Regions from separate parts of the Homo sapiens genome. Here all the other regions are linked to region 2. The links are contacts of gene promoters, found by promoter capture Hi-C in blood cells and fetal thymus (Javierre and others, 2016). All regions are on one chromosome and are shown on one strand. The core of a region is centred on a gene start or on the middle of the fragment in contact, and the rest is flanking DNA. Distances in the headings are between cores, read along the strand shown.

What was found. Contacts are between HindIII fragments. The CHiCAGO score rates a contact against its expected background, and 5 or more counts as called.
Region 1: a contact is called between a fragment that was not itself captured here and the fragment with the promoter of PSD2 in region 2, in 16 of 17 cell types (M1 macrophages, M2 macrophages, M0 macrophages and 13 more). The highest score is 32.0, in M1 macrophages.
Region 3: a fragment that was not itself captured here is called in contact with the fragment with the promoter of PSD2 in region 2 in 1 of 17 cell types (M2 macrophages); the score reaches 6.1 in M2 macrophages.
Region 4: a fragment that was not itself captured here is called in contact with the fragment with the promoter of PSD2 in region 2 in 2 of 17 cell types (M1 macrophages and M2 macrophages); the score reaches 7.7 in M1 macrophages.

What each region holds. Positions count from the first base shown.
Region 1 is chr5:139,965,403-139,968,102 of GRCh38, forward strand. All of the region lies in intron 1 of NRG2 (neuregulin 2), which reads right to left. Among named protein-coding and RNA genes, the nearest start is that of NRG2, 77 kb to the right of the region's middle. The HindIII fragment of the contact is 304 bases long and covers 1,105-1,408 here.
Region 2 is chr5:139,794,372-139,797,227 of GRCh38, forward strand. PSD2 (pleckstrin and Sec7 domain containing 2) reads left to right here and starts at 1,437. Exons shown (of 15, transcript NM_032289.4): 1 at 1,437-1,604. RefSeq lists a silencer at 956-1,155. The HindIII fragment of the contact is 8,840 bases long and covers 1-2,856 here.
Region 3 is chr5:140,006,473-140,009,334 of GRCh38, forward strand. All of the region lies in intron 1 of NRG2 (neuregulin 2), which reads right to left. Among named protein-coding and RNA genes, the nearest start is that of NRG2, 35 kb to the right of the region's middle. The HindIII fragment of the contact is 3,147 bases long and covers 1-2,862 here.
Region 4 is chr5:139,987,285-139,989,984 of GRCh38, forward strand. The region is part of intron 1 of NRG2 (neuregulin 2); the gene reads right to left. Among named protein-coding and RNA genes, the nearest start is that of NRG2, 55 kb to the right of the region's middle. The HindIII fragment of the contact is 9,540 bases long and covers 1-2,700 here.

The DNA of each region.
Region 1 (2,700 bases), core at 7-2,506, 170 kb after region 2:
ACAGAGCTTGAGGCAAGGCATTCCCCAGCCCCAGACCAGGCCAAACAGCAGAGCGACGCAGTCCTCCTGAACAGGGATGGCAGCAGCAGCCCCAGCTGCCAGCAGGAGGCCGTGGCTTTCATGCCACCACACAGCAGTGCTGCTGATGCTCCAATGTATAACAGGGCCTGAATATTCACCCAATCAGGCCCCTGGACAGAGGGACTCTGACACTTCTGCTGATGAATCCTGGCCCTCCTGAAGGCCTTCCTATGAGCAGCAAAGCACAGGGCTATACTTTCTGCCAAGATATATCTCCTTCCCAGTCTGGTAGAGACCGTCACCCCAATTGCAGACAGTGCTAAAAGGAAGAGCTGTCAGGAGTGCTCACTAGTACAACTCTTGCCAAGGTCAGGATGTGACTGTGAGGTAAAGCCAGCAGAGGTATGGATGTGGGGCTCACAGCCTTTGCAGAGGGAGAGGTGTGCTAGCCAGGGGGAGAGGGGATTGTGGGCAAGGTCCCTCCTACCAGTCTCTCATATTGCCCTATATCAGCCTATTCATTTTCTTCCTAGGACTTTTCACAATTTCTAATTTTTTTTTTATATTTGCTTACTTATTATTTGTTTCCTCCACTAGGCTATAAGCCCCATGAGTTTAGGGACCATGTCTCGCTTATTTACTATGGTATCCCCAGTGTCAGTGTGGTGCCTGGCACATAGCAGGGACTCAGTAATATTTACTGAACCAATGAATGGTCTCTGTCCAGAGAACCTCGGTGCACTATGCTCCATTGCCAACGAAACACAGGAGTGATGCACCTAAACACCCAGAGAATCCAGATCAGAGATGGCAGGAAGTTCTTCAAGGAAGGCCCACCAGCTCTCCCACCCATGCATTCATACCACATTGTACAAGTCTAATCTGAGCACTTACGCGACAGGTACTGCACTGGAATGTGAGGATCCCTCCACGAAACAAATAAACAAAACCACTGGCCCCTTCCCTTACGGAGGTATGACTTTGGTAAGGAAGGGATATTAAGAAACAAATGACTACAATTCAGTCTGACAAGCACCATCAGAGGTAAGATCAGAGGACCCACCCTACTCTTGGGAGCTGGGAAGCTTTCCCAGAGGAGGGACATTCTAAGATGAGCTCTTAGGGGTGGTGTGAACTAGCAGCAAAGACTGGAGGAGGAAAGAGGGAAGAAAAGAAGATTTCACAAAAAGAGGTTAGTATATGCAAGAGTTTAGAAATGAGAGCATATGCGACTTAAAAAAGGAGAAAAGGGAAGTTTGGCATGGTCAGGGGTGATGAGGAGAGGCTGAGAGAGAGAGTTGGAAATGCAAGCAGGAGGACCTGGAGGGCCTGGGAAACTGTGTGGTGAGCTGCTGATGGGCTACAAACAGAAAGGTAAAAGAATCTAAGCTTGTGATTTAGAAGCTTCCCTAAGTGCACAGAAAAGCAAGCTCAGAGCATACCTGCTCATGCAGAAGGCTAGTGAGGCTTCTCCTATCTCTAATGGATGGGAAGGAGCTTACAGGAACTGCTCAAAAAAAGGCCTGGGAGGAAACAGGGGTCATGCAGGCCCCCAGCCTCCCCCAGTGGCTCCACATCAATAGAACTTATTTGCCCCTTGCTCCGAGATATAACACCCAGGGGATTGCAGGAGACCTGAGATGCCAGTCATGTGGGAATCACATGTGAGGAGTCTCCACACTGCATAGCCCACGGGGATAGGGTCAACGGGAGTGGCTGGAAAGGAAGAGGAGGCAATGGCCGGTGCTGGGGCCAGGGATCATGGGATTCAAGAAAGCTATTTAGAGTCAACCTCATGCCTAGATTATAAGGACCTTCACTCCAGGGACTATTACCTTGTATCCCACTCAGCCCTGGGTACAAGGTAGATGTCCAACAAGTACTCCTCTTGGGCAGAGGAATAGAAAACCCACTCAGACATTCTCAGGACACACATACCTCCTCCGCAACAGAGTCTCCGTACTGAAGGACAAGTGTCCTTTTCCTCTTTCCTCATCCTGCAGCCCAACAAAGGCCACAGGTGGCCAAATGTACCAGACAACAAAAGCTGATGAAGACGCTGCTGCCGTGCACAAGGTGGGCCCACGAGAGGGCAGTTGGTGGCCAGGTGGGAAGAAAAGCAGAGACACTTCTAAGGAGAGGCTGGTAACTGAAGATCCCTCAGATGCAAGGCCTCATCAGAGATGTAGAATGCCTGGGCTCTAGTCAGAGCCCTCAAGACTCCTTTAACCTTGGGTCTTGATTTTCTTACCTATGAAAGGAGAACAGGGCCGGGCACAATGGCTCTTGCCTGTAATCCTAGCACTCTGGGAGGCCGAGGCGGGTGGGAGATCGAGACCATTCTGGCCAACATGGTGAAACCCCATCTCTATTGAAAATACAAAAATTAGCCAGGCGTGGTGGCGGGCGCCTGTAGTCCCAGCTACTCAGGAGGCTGAGGCAGGAGAATCCCTTGAATCTGGGAGGCAGAGGTTGCAGTGAGCTGAGATCGCACCACTGCACTCCAGCCTGGGCAACAGAGCTAGACTCTGTCCCAAAAAATAAAACATAAAAATAAATAAATAAATAAATAAATAAATAAATAAATAAATGGAGAACAGGACTGCATGCTTACTCAAGCCCCTTCCAGAGTTTCATTCCAGGGGGAGGAGGCCATGCTGACCCCCAAGGCCTCTGAGG
Region 2 (2,856 bases), core at 187-2,686:
TGAAGTCCCAGCTCCTGCTGTTGCCCAGCTTGAAGGGAGGGAGACTACGCACAGCTCAGATTCCACACCTCCAATTACTGCCACCCTAAGAGGTCAGCAAATCCTCTTCCTGCTCCCTAAGAAGAGTCCATGTTTGTGTGTTCATGGGTGGAAAGAAGGTCAGAGAAGACTTCATGAAGGAAGGGGCATTTAAGGAGGAATTTGAGGGTTCAGTAGGAGTTCACTGAGCACAGCAGGATCAAGGCCCCACCGGGCAGAGTGTGGATCATCTGCTGAGGTCTGGAGATGGAAGCAACTGGGTGTGGTGAACCCCCCAGGGGCTGGAGTAGGGGAGAGGGGTAGAAAGTGGCCTCCAGTGGCAGGGCCTGACTCTATCCTGATTTCCCTTCTCCCAGGCACTGGGCCTGCTCCCCACGCCCTCCTTAGATCCCTGTGGGTGGGGGCCCTTTAATGCCTCTCTGAGAGGCGGACTCTTACTCTGCAGGTGCCTCACAGCCAGGAAGTTCTTAATGTCTAGCCCAGGTACAGCCAGTCAACCCTCTTCTTCAGTTAGAGTCCTGGGCTGAGGGGGGCGGCTTCAGGGCCTTGACTTGCCCTTGGGGAGACACCGTGGGACAGGTGCCTTGGGAGATGGTTTCCTCTGCCCAGGGCACCCTCTGTCTCTCTCTGTCTCCTTATATCTGCCCAGGGAGGCTTCCCCTTGACCTGGCACAGGGATGTGGATTCTTGGTTGGACCCACCCCTCACCTCCCGCCTCCCTCAGGTTCTTTCTCCTTTGTCTCTTTCTCCTCTCTCCTGCCTCCTCCCATCCCACTCTGTCCCGAGGCTCCTTCTCACCCCACAGCCCAGGTCTCCGTCCCGTCCCGTGTGACTCTAGGTCTCAGGGGCTCAGTCTCCCTCTCTGAGATTCTTCACCTTGGCCCCCCGCACTCCCTGCTCCTCCCTTGGCGGCGTCTCCCGGGGGCTGGCGTGTGTGTCGGGGGGCTGGGGGCAGGGGTCACTCCCTGAACAGACCGCGGGAGGAGGGCCAGGACCCGCCCCCTCCTTCACCTCCAGGGCCTGGCGGGTCCCGAGAGCTCAGGTTCTAGACCGGTGGGTCCTGCCTGGAGGGCGGAGGTGGTTGGGTCTGCCCGAGGGTTCGAGGACGGCAGGGGCCCAGCGTGGCTAGGAGGGGGCAGAACCCCGGGCGCTCCCCTCCCCCCCTTTCTTAAAGGGCCCGCGCGGGGCAGAGGGGGACAAGGTGGGCCGCGCTCTCCCCGGCACGCTCGGGGTCCCGGGGCGAGCGCTGCGCTGCAAGCGGACAGGGCTGGGGGCCGCGCTTCCCTCCGGGCTCCGCGCCCGCCGCTCGCGCGCCCGCAGTGCCCCCGCCCTTCCCCGCCCTTCCCGCTCCTCCCTCCTCCTCCTCCTCCAGCTCACGGCTCCGCTCCCTCCCTCCTGCCGTCCGTCCCCCTCGCTCAGCCTCTCCACATCGCGGCTCCGGCACCTGAAGGGACGCGGGCGGGCGCGGGCAGCTCCGACCGGCGGCGGCGGGGCGGGACAGGCAGCCCGGCGGCCTCCGATGGCCCCGCCGTGAGAGGCCGGACCCGCGGCGGGGACCAGCAGCGGTGAGTGGGGCCGCGGGGCTCCGGGACCCGCCCCTCCCCGCTGGCGGCCAGGCCGGGGCGGGACGGGCCGGGGAGAGGGCCGCGTGCGGGTGGGGGGCGTCGCCCTCGCCCTCGGTGCCCACCCGGGTCCGCTAACAAAGCTACATTTCCAGATCAATTCCGCGGCGTCTGGAGCATCCGAAGGATACGGTTGTCATGGAGATGGGGCCGAGAGAGGAAGCCCGGGCTGGCCGGGTCTGGGCCGGGGAGAGGGGGCGCCGCGGGAAAGCCCGAGCCCAGCCTGAGGGACGGTGGGGGCTGCCGGGCCGATTGTCTCCCGGCTCCGCCACCCACTACCCTCTCCCCGCTTTTGTATAATCTGGGGGTACGCGTGTGCGTGGGGGGTGCCAGTGGCAGCCTGGTGGTCGGGGATCGGGGCATTGGGTACCGGGGCCTGCCGGCAGCCACCTTCACGAGGCTGCAGCTTTGAGGATTTATTTCTGTTTCCAGTTTCCCAACTTTGACAGCCCTGCTTGGCGGCCAGGCCTCCCCGGCTCTGCAGCTAGAGCGGGGGCTCGCACGGGGGCGTGGCAGTCAGGGCTGAGGAGGCACATAATGGCCGAGGCGGCAGCGGGAGGGAGGGGTCCCAGGAGCGGGCTGCTGGGGCTGGGTGCAGAGGGAGTCCAGACTGGGGACAACCCTGCCCAGCGGGCCCCCTCGGAGGAGGAGGTATTCAGCTGTTCCTAGAGGATGCAGGGACTCCCCGGAATGATCACTGGGGGCATTGTTTTTGCATAGGCCCAGGGGGCCACTGTCTCAAGCCCACCCCTTTGTCTTGGGGCCATCTTGGGGGGGCCAGGAAGAGAACAGGGAGCAGAAGCAGCAGTCACAATGGAAGAGGGCCTAAGACTCCTGGCAGCCTGGGGATAAGCCAGGCTGAATTTGATGGGGATCAGCGAGAGGGCTCAGGATTTGGCCAGGGCAGGTGGGCAGCCTGGGTTTGGACTTTCCTGGGTTCCCCAGTTCCTTTTTCTAGATCCTACAAACAAGAGCTGCTTAATAGTGGTTGGGGGTGGGGGGGTTCACTGGGCTGGGACTGCCTCCAAACCCAACCCGTGGCCCAGGGCAGTTGCAGTCGTTCTTTCATTCTTCCACCCTCTCCCCAGGACTTTAGGAACCTGTCTCCCAGGGAAGCTACAAGTTCTGGGGCCTGGGATCTCCGAATCAGTAAAATGTGCCTGCTGTCCTCCCAGCAGCCCCTTTCCCCAATATA
Region 3 (2,862 bases), core at 152-2,651, 210 kb after region 2:
CACACAAAGATTAATGTACAAAGTTGTCATTCAGTATTATCTCTAGTAGTCTGAAAATTGGTTATAATAATGTTCTACAACTGGAAGTTATTAAATAAATATGGAGCATTCATAAGATTGTCTAATATGCATCCATTAAAAATCATATTTTCTAAGAACGGTTTGCCGTGTATTAAGATATGATCCTGATTTGGTGTGTGAGTATGGTGGAAGAGAAGAGAGACATGCCAGGAAAAGATGCAAGAAGAAAATACACCTTAAAACTTATTATCTCTAGGTGGTTGAGATGCCAACAGATCCTTTAAATTTTTCTTCTTTTATACTTCTCTGTTTCTTCTATATTTTCTCCAACAAACATGTTACTTTTCAAACAAGGAAAATTCATAGTCCCCATTATAGAGAGGCTCATTAACCTGCCCTAGGGTCTTCCGTGAGTCAGAAGTGAAATCAAAAATAAAGACCATGGTTCTCAAAAGCCTAGTTCATCACACAAGCTGCCTACATGTGTGCTGTGGTAACTCTAGAATAGTGGTCCTTAACTGGGGTGATTTTGCCCCACAGGGACGATTTCCATGTTTAGAGACATTTTTGTTTGTGGTAACGGGGGAAGGTGGATGCTACTGGCATCTAGTGGAGGGGCCAAGGATGCTACTAAATATCCTACAATGCCCAAGATAGTACCCCATAACAAAGAATCATTTGGCTCAAAATGCTAATAGTGCCATTGTTGAGTAACTCTGCTCTAGGAGAAGGAAACTGGACTTTGAAAAAGCTCAGGTGGCTCAAAGATACAGGAACCTCCAATCTGCTTCACATCCTGTGCGAGCTGTAGTGCCTTCTGCTTCAAACAGGCAGTTAACAGACCCCAGGGGATAAAGCATTGAGGACTTTATTACTTATATTAAGCAGCCTTCAGCTTCCAATTGGAGAAAAAGAAATTGCTCATTTCACTCCAGAGCCATAACAGACACAAGCAGAACACAGCTTAGGATCAAGAGCTCAGAAAGAGGAGATCAGCCAGGAGCTGGAGGTGGCAGGTGGGGAGTGTGTACCGACAGGCAACACCAGCTGGACTCAGGAGCCGGAGGCCTGTCTGTACATTCTCCTTCTGCATCTTCACCTCCAGCACCCTACTAGTCCTGGGTGACAATTTTAGACTTCACTTCCAAGTATCTTTAGGGTAGGAGAAAAAGGAAGAGCTCCACCCAACCCCTGAGAAAGATTCTTTCTGCTTTTGGAAACTCTCTTCCATCAAAGAGGGTCACTTGCTTGGACTTATCCAGGGGTTTCAAGGGAAGACAGATATTATGCCAGCATTTCATTTTCCCTGTGACCTTGGGCCCAATTTAGCAACTCATAGGACTCAAGTGCTGGAAAGAACCTTGGCCCAAACCTTGTCCCTTAACAGATCAGGAAACCAAGTCCCAGGGAAGCCAAGGATCAGGCCCAACTCACACAGCTATGGCGAAGCCGATACCTGAACCCGGATCTTCCATTCTCTCTATTCCTTACAGCATCTCAGTCACCAGGAAGTCTGATACTGTGAGACCCACAGCCGCCAGTCCTATAGTAGGAAGCTGTCACTCTCTAGTGTCATTTCACATGAGAACAGATGTGGGGAGCACCACACAGGAATGTGTTCCCATGGGCAGCCTGACATCTACATGTCCCATTTTGCTGCAGCCACTGAGGGTAAGTGCAGAGTCTATGCAGAAGATGCATGGGGAAATCAAAGATCTATTCCACAGCAGATGTGAAGCTCTAGTGTTGCTACTACCACATCCTTCGAGTAGCCTAGTAAACCTTATTTCAGCCAAACAAAAGGGCTCTTGTTCCACTAGGGCTATCGCTGGCCCCTTTTACTGGATAGCTGACCACACAACTGTTTGCTGCATTTATTCAACAAATATTTATTGAGCACCTATTATGTGCCAGAAACTGAACTAGGTAATGGTCATTTGGGTCTGACCTACTCTCTCTAAGGTCTAGTCCTATTATAGGCCCACTTCTGGGATTGCTTAGAGATCCCTTACTCCTTACTAAACCAAGTTTCCCTACAGTGAGCTCATCTTTACCTGAGCTAGCTTGGGAGATTCTAACTTTGGCTTGTGACCAAAAGAGAAAAACTAAAACCAAATGAAATGTATATACACTACAGTGAATTCCAGACGGGTCAGCATTAAATGCCAACTTAAAACCTAGAATATAAGAGAATGCTTATTTATCCCTCTCAGTCGGGGAGAAATAACTGACAAATGATATGACCAGAGACTCAACTGGTGAGTTCAAAAAAATAAATGCATGAAACAAGGAGGTATAGTACTATGGTTAGGATATAGGCTCAGAAATCAGACAGGCATGTCTCTGCTACTTACTGTGTGGTCTTGAGCAAGTTACTTAACCTCTCTGTGTCTCAGTTCCCCATATGAAAAATGGGATAATAGCAATAGAACCAACCTCCCAGGGTTGTTGCAAGGACTGAGTGAGAGACAAAACAATTACACAGCAAAACAATGACATAGCACTAGTGCATATTCAGTAACCATTATTTCTGGCACTTAGGAGTCATTTAGCACTCATCCTCCAATCTGATCCTATGCTTTCCCTAAAAGATCCTGGCAAAATGGCACCACAAACTTCCCTGAGCTGCATCATCAATAAAGTAGAAGCTCAGCATACTGTGAAGATTCATTGCTTTTCAAAGCCCCACAGAAGAAATCAGCAGCATCTCAGATTGTGGCTGCCTCTGCTGCTGCTGCAGAGCTGGACACATGGAATCTCTCACTGTCTTGCCTCCAGTTGAAAGAGGCCTCAGAGTCAGTGTCCTAAATCTAAGAACCAGATCTCTTCTTACCCAGAGCT
Region 4 (2,700 bases), core at 106-2,605, 190 kb after region 2:
TTGAACCCGGGAGGCGGAAGTTGCAGTGAGCTGAGATCGCGCCACTGCGCTCCAGCCTGGGTGACAGAGCAAGACTCTGTCTCAAAAAAAAAAAAAAAAAAAAAAAAAGGATATTATGCCACCTCACATCCTGACTCATGCTCCAGGAAAGGACCCAAGGCAGGGGTCCAGTGCTCTAAGGATGCCCACTGCAGGAAGCAGGGAAGTAAATGCTCTAACTGGGACGATCCCAGCCAGAGACTGCTGAGTAACCACACATCTGTCCAGGAGAAATTCACTAGACAGATCTACCTATCTTCCACTGCCAATGAGACTGTCCCTGAATACAGAGCTTTGAATGTAGAAAAGGACAGGTGGATGTTGCCTCATACCAGTGGGAGCTAAAGTGGTGCCATCTTTCATTTCAGGAAGCTAACTTGGTAATATGTATCAAAAGCCTTATTAAATGCACATATCCTTTGATATAAGAATTTCATTTCTGCAGGTTGTTTTTTTTTTTTTTTTTTTGAGACGAGAGTCTCACTCTGTTGCCCAGGCTGGAGTGCAGTAGTGCGATCTCGGCTCACTGCAAGCTCCACCTCCCGGGTTCACGCCATCCTCCTGCCTCAGCCTCCCGAGTAGCTGGGACTATAGGCGCACACCGCCATGCCTGGCTAATTTTTTGTATTTTCAGTAGAGATGGGGTTTCACCGTGTTAGACAGGATGGTCTTGATCTCCTGACCTTGTGATCCGCCTGCCTCGGCCTCCCAAAGTGCTGGGATTACAGGCGTGAGCCACCACGCCCAGCCTCTGCAGGTTGATTTTCAGAAACTAATTCAAGATACATATCTATTAGAATGGCCAAAGTCCAGAACATGACAACACCAAATGCTGGTGAGGATGTGGAGCAACAGGAATTCTGGTTCATTGCTGGTGGGAATGCAAAAGGGCACAGCCACTTTGGAAGATAGTTTGACAGTTTCTTACAAAACTAAACATACTCTTACCATATAATCCAGCAATTGAGCTCTCTGGTATTTACCCAAAGGAGTTGAAAACTTACGTCCATACAAAAACATGCACACAGATGTTCATATCATCTTCTATAATTGCCAAAACTTGAAAGCAACCGAGTTGGCCTTCATTAGAGGAATGAATAAACTGTGGTAAACCAGTAAATGAAATATTCAGTGCTAAAAAGAAAAAAGCTATCAAGCCATGAAAAGATCTGGAGGAACCTTAAATCCATATTGCTAAAGGAAAGAAGCCAATTGAAAAGGTTACGTATTATATGATTCCAACTGTATCACATTCTGGAAAAGGCAAAACTATGGAGAGAGTAAAAGGATCAGTAGTTGCCAGAGGTTGGGGCAAGGGAAGGATGAATAGATGGAGCACAGAGGATTTTCAGGGCAGTGAAAATACTATATGATACTATAGCGAATGTATGTCCTTATACACATGTCCAAACCCATAGAATGTACACCACCAAGAGTGAACCCTAATGTAAGGTATAGACTTTGGGTGATAATGATGTGTCAATGTAGGTTTATCTGTTGTAATGTATGTACCACTCTCGTGGGGGATATTGTAATTGGGAGCCTGAACATGTATGAGGGCAGAGGCCATATGGGAAATCTCTGTACCTTCCTTTCAATTTGACTGTGAGCCTAACACTGCTCTAAAACAAACAGTCTTAAATATAATAAAATTGGCCCCGGTCTCACACCATAAAAAAGAAAGACATTAATTGAATTTGTTTGAAGATTAAGGTACAAGGATGTTCATTTTAGACCTTTACTGGAGCAAAAAATATTGTAAACAACTTAGATGTACCATAAGAGCAGACTGTTAAATTATGGAAGATTTGTACAATAGAATATTCCTTGCCTCCCACATCTAAGTCATCAGAGCAAGTTCTCCATTATCTCCGGAATAGATTCTGATTCTGTTCATTACTCTCCATCTCAATGGCCACCACTGGAGAACAATGCCTCACCCTCCTTCATCTGGATACTAAACATCTTCCTAACTGGTCATCCTGCTCCAGCTTCTACTCCTTTGATCCATTCTTCACATAGCAGTCAGAGCTGTCTACTTTGCTGCCTGGCTAGCTAGCTAACCATTTGTTTAAAGTATTAAAAGCACCCATAAACCTACCACATTTGGCCCCTACCCATGCCATGTCCTAACACCTCCCATGCCAGGCAGCCATCAACCTGAATCCTCACTCCCTTGCTTTCCTTTTTATATAGTGTTATTGCATCTATAAGAGTTCCTAAATACACATATTTTTAAAGTTTTTAATTTAATAAAAAATATCCCGTGGCACGCAATAATTTTTGCACTTAGTGGTATTTGTTAAGATTCACGCATGTTGTTGCATGTCACCACAGTTCATTCATTCAAACAGCTGTGTAATATTCCACTGTAGTTATGGATTTAGTTTATTCAGTCTCTTGTTGATGGGCATTGAAGATTTTTTGCTAGGTTTTTATTATTATTATTATTATTTATTTTATTTTATTTTTTTATTTTTTTTTGAGACAGAGTCTTGCCTTTTGCCCAGGCCGGACTGCAGTGGCGTGATCTCGGCTCACTGCAAGCTCCGCCTCCTGGGTTCATGCCATTCTCCTGCCTCAGCCTCCCGAGTAGCTGGGACTACAGGTGCCCACCACCACGCCCAGCTAATTTTTTGTATTTTTAGTAGAGACGGGGTT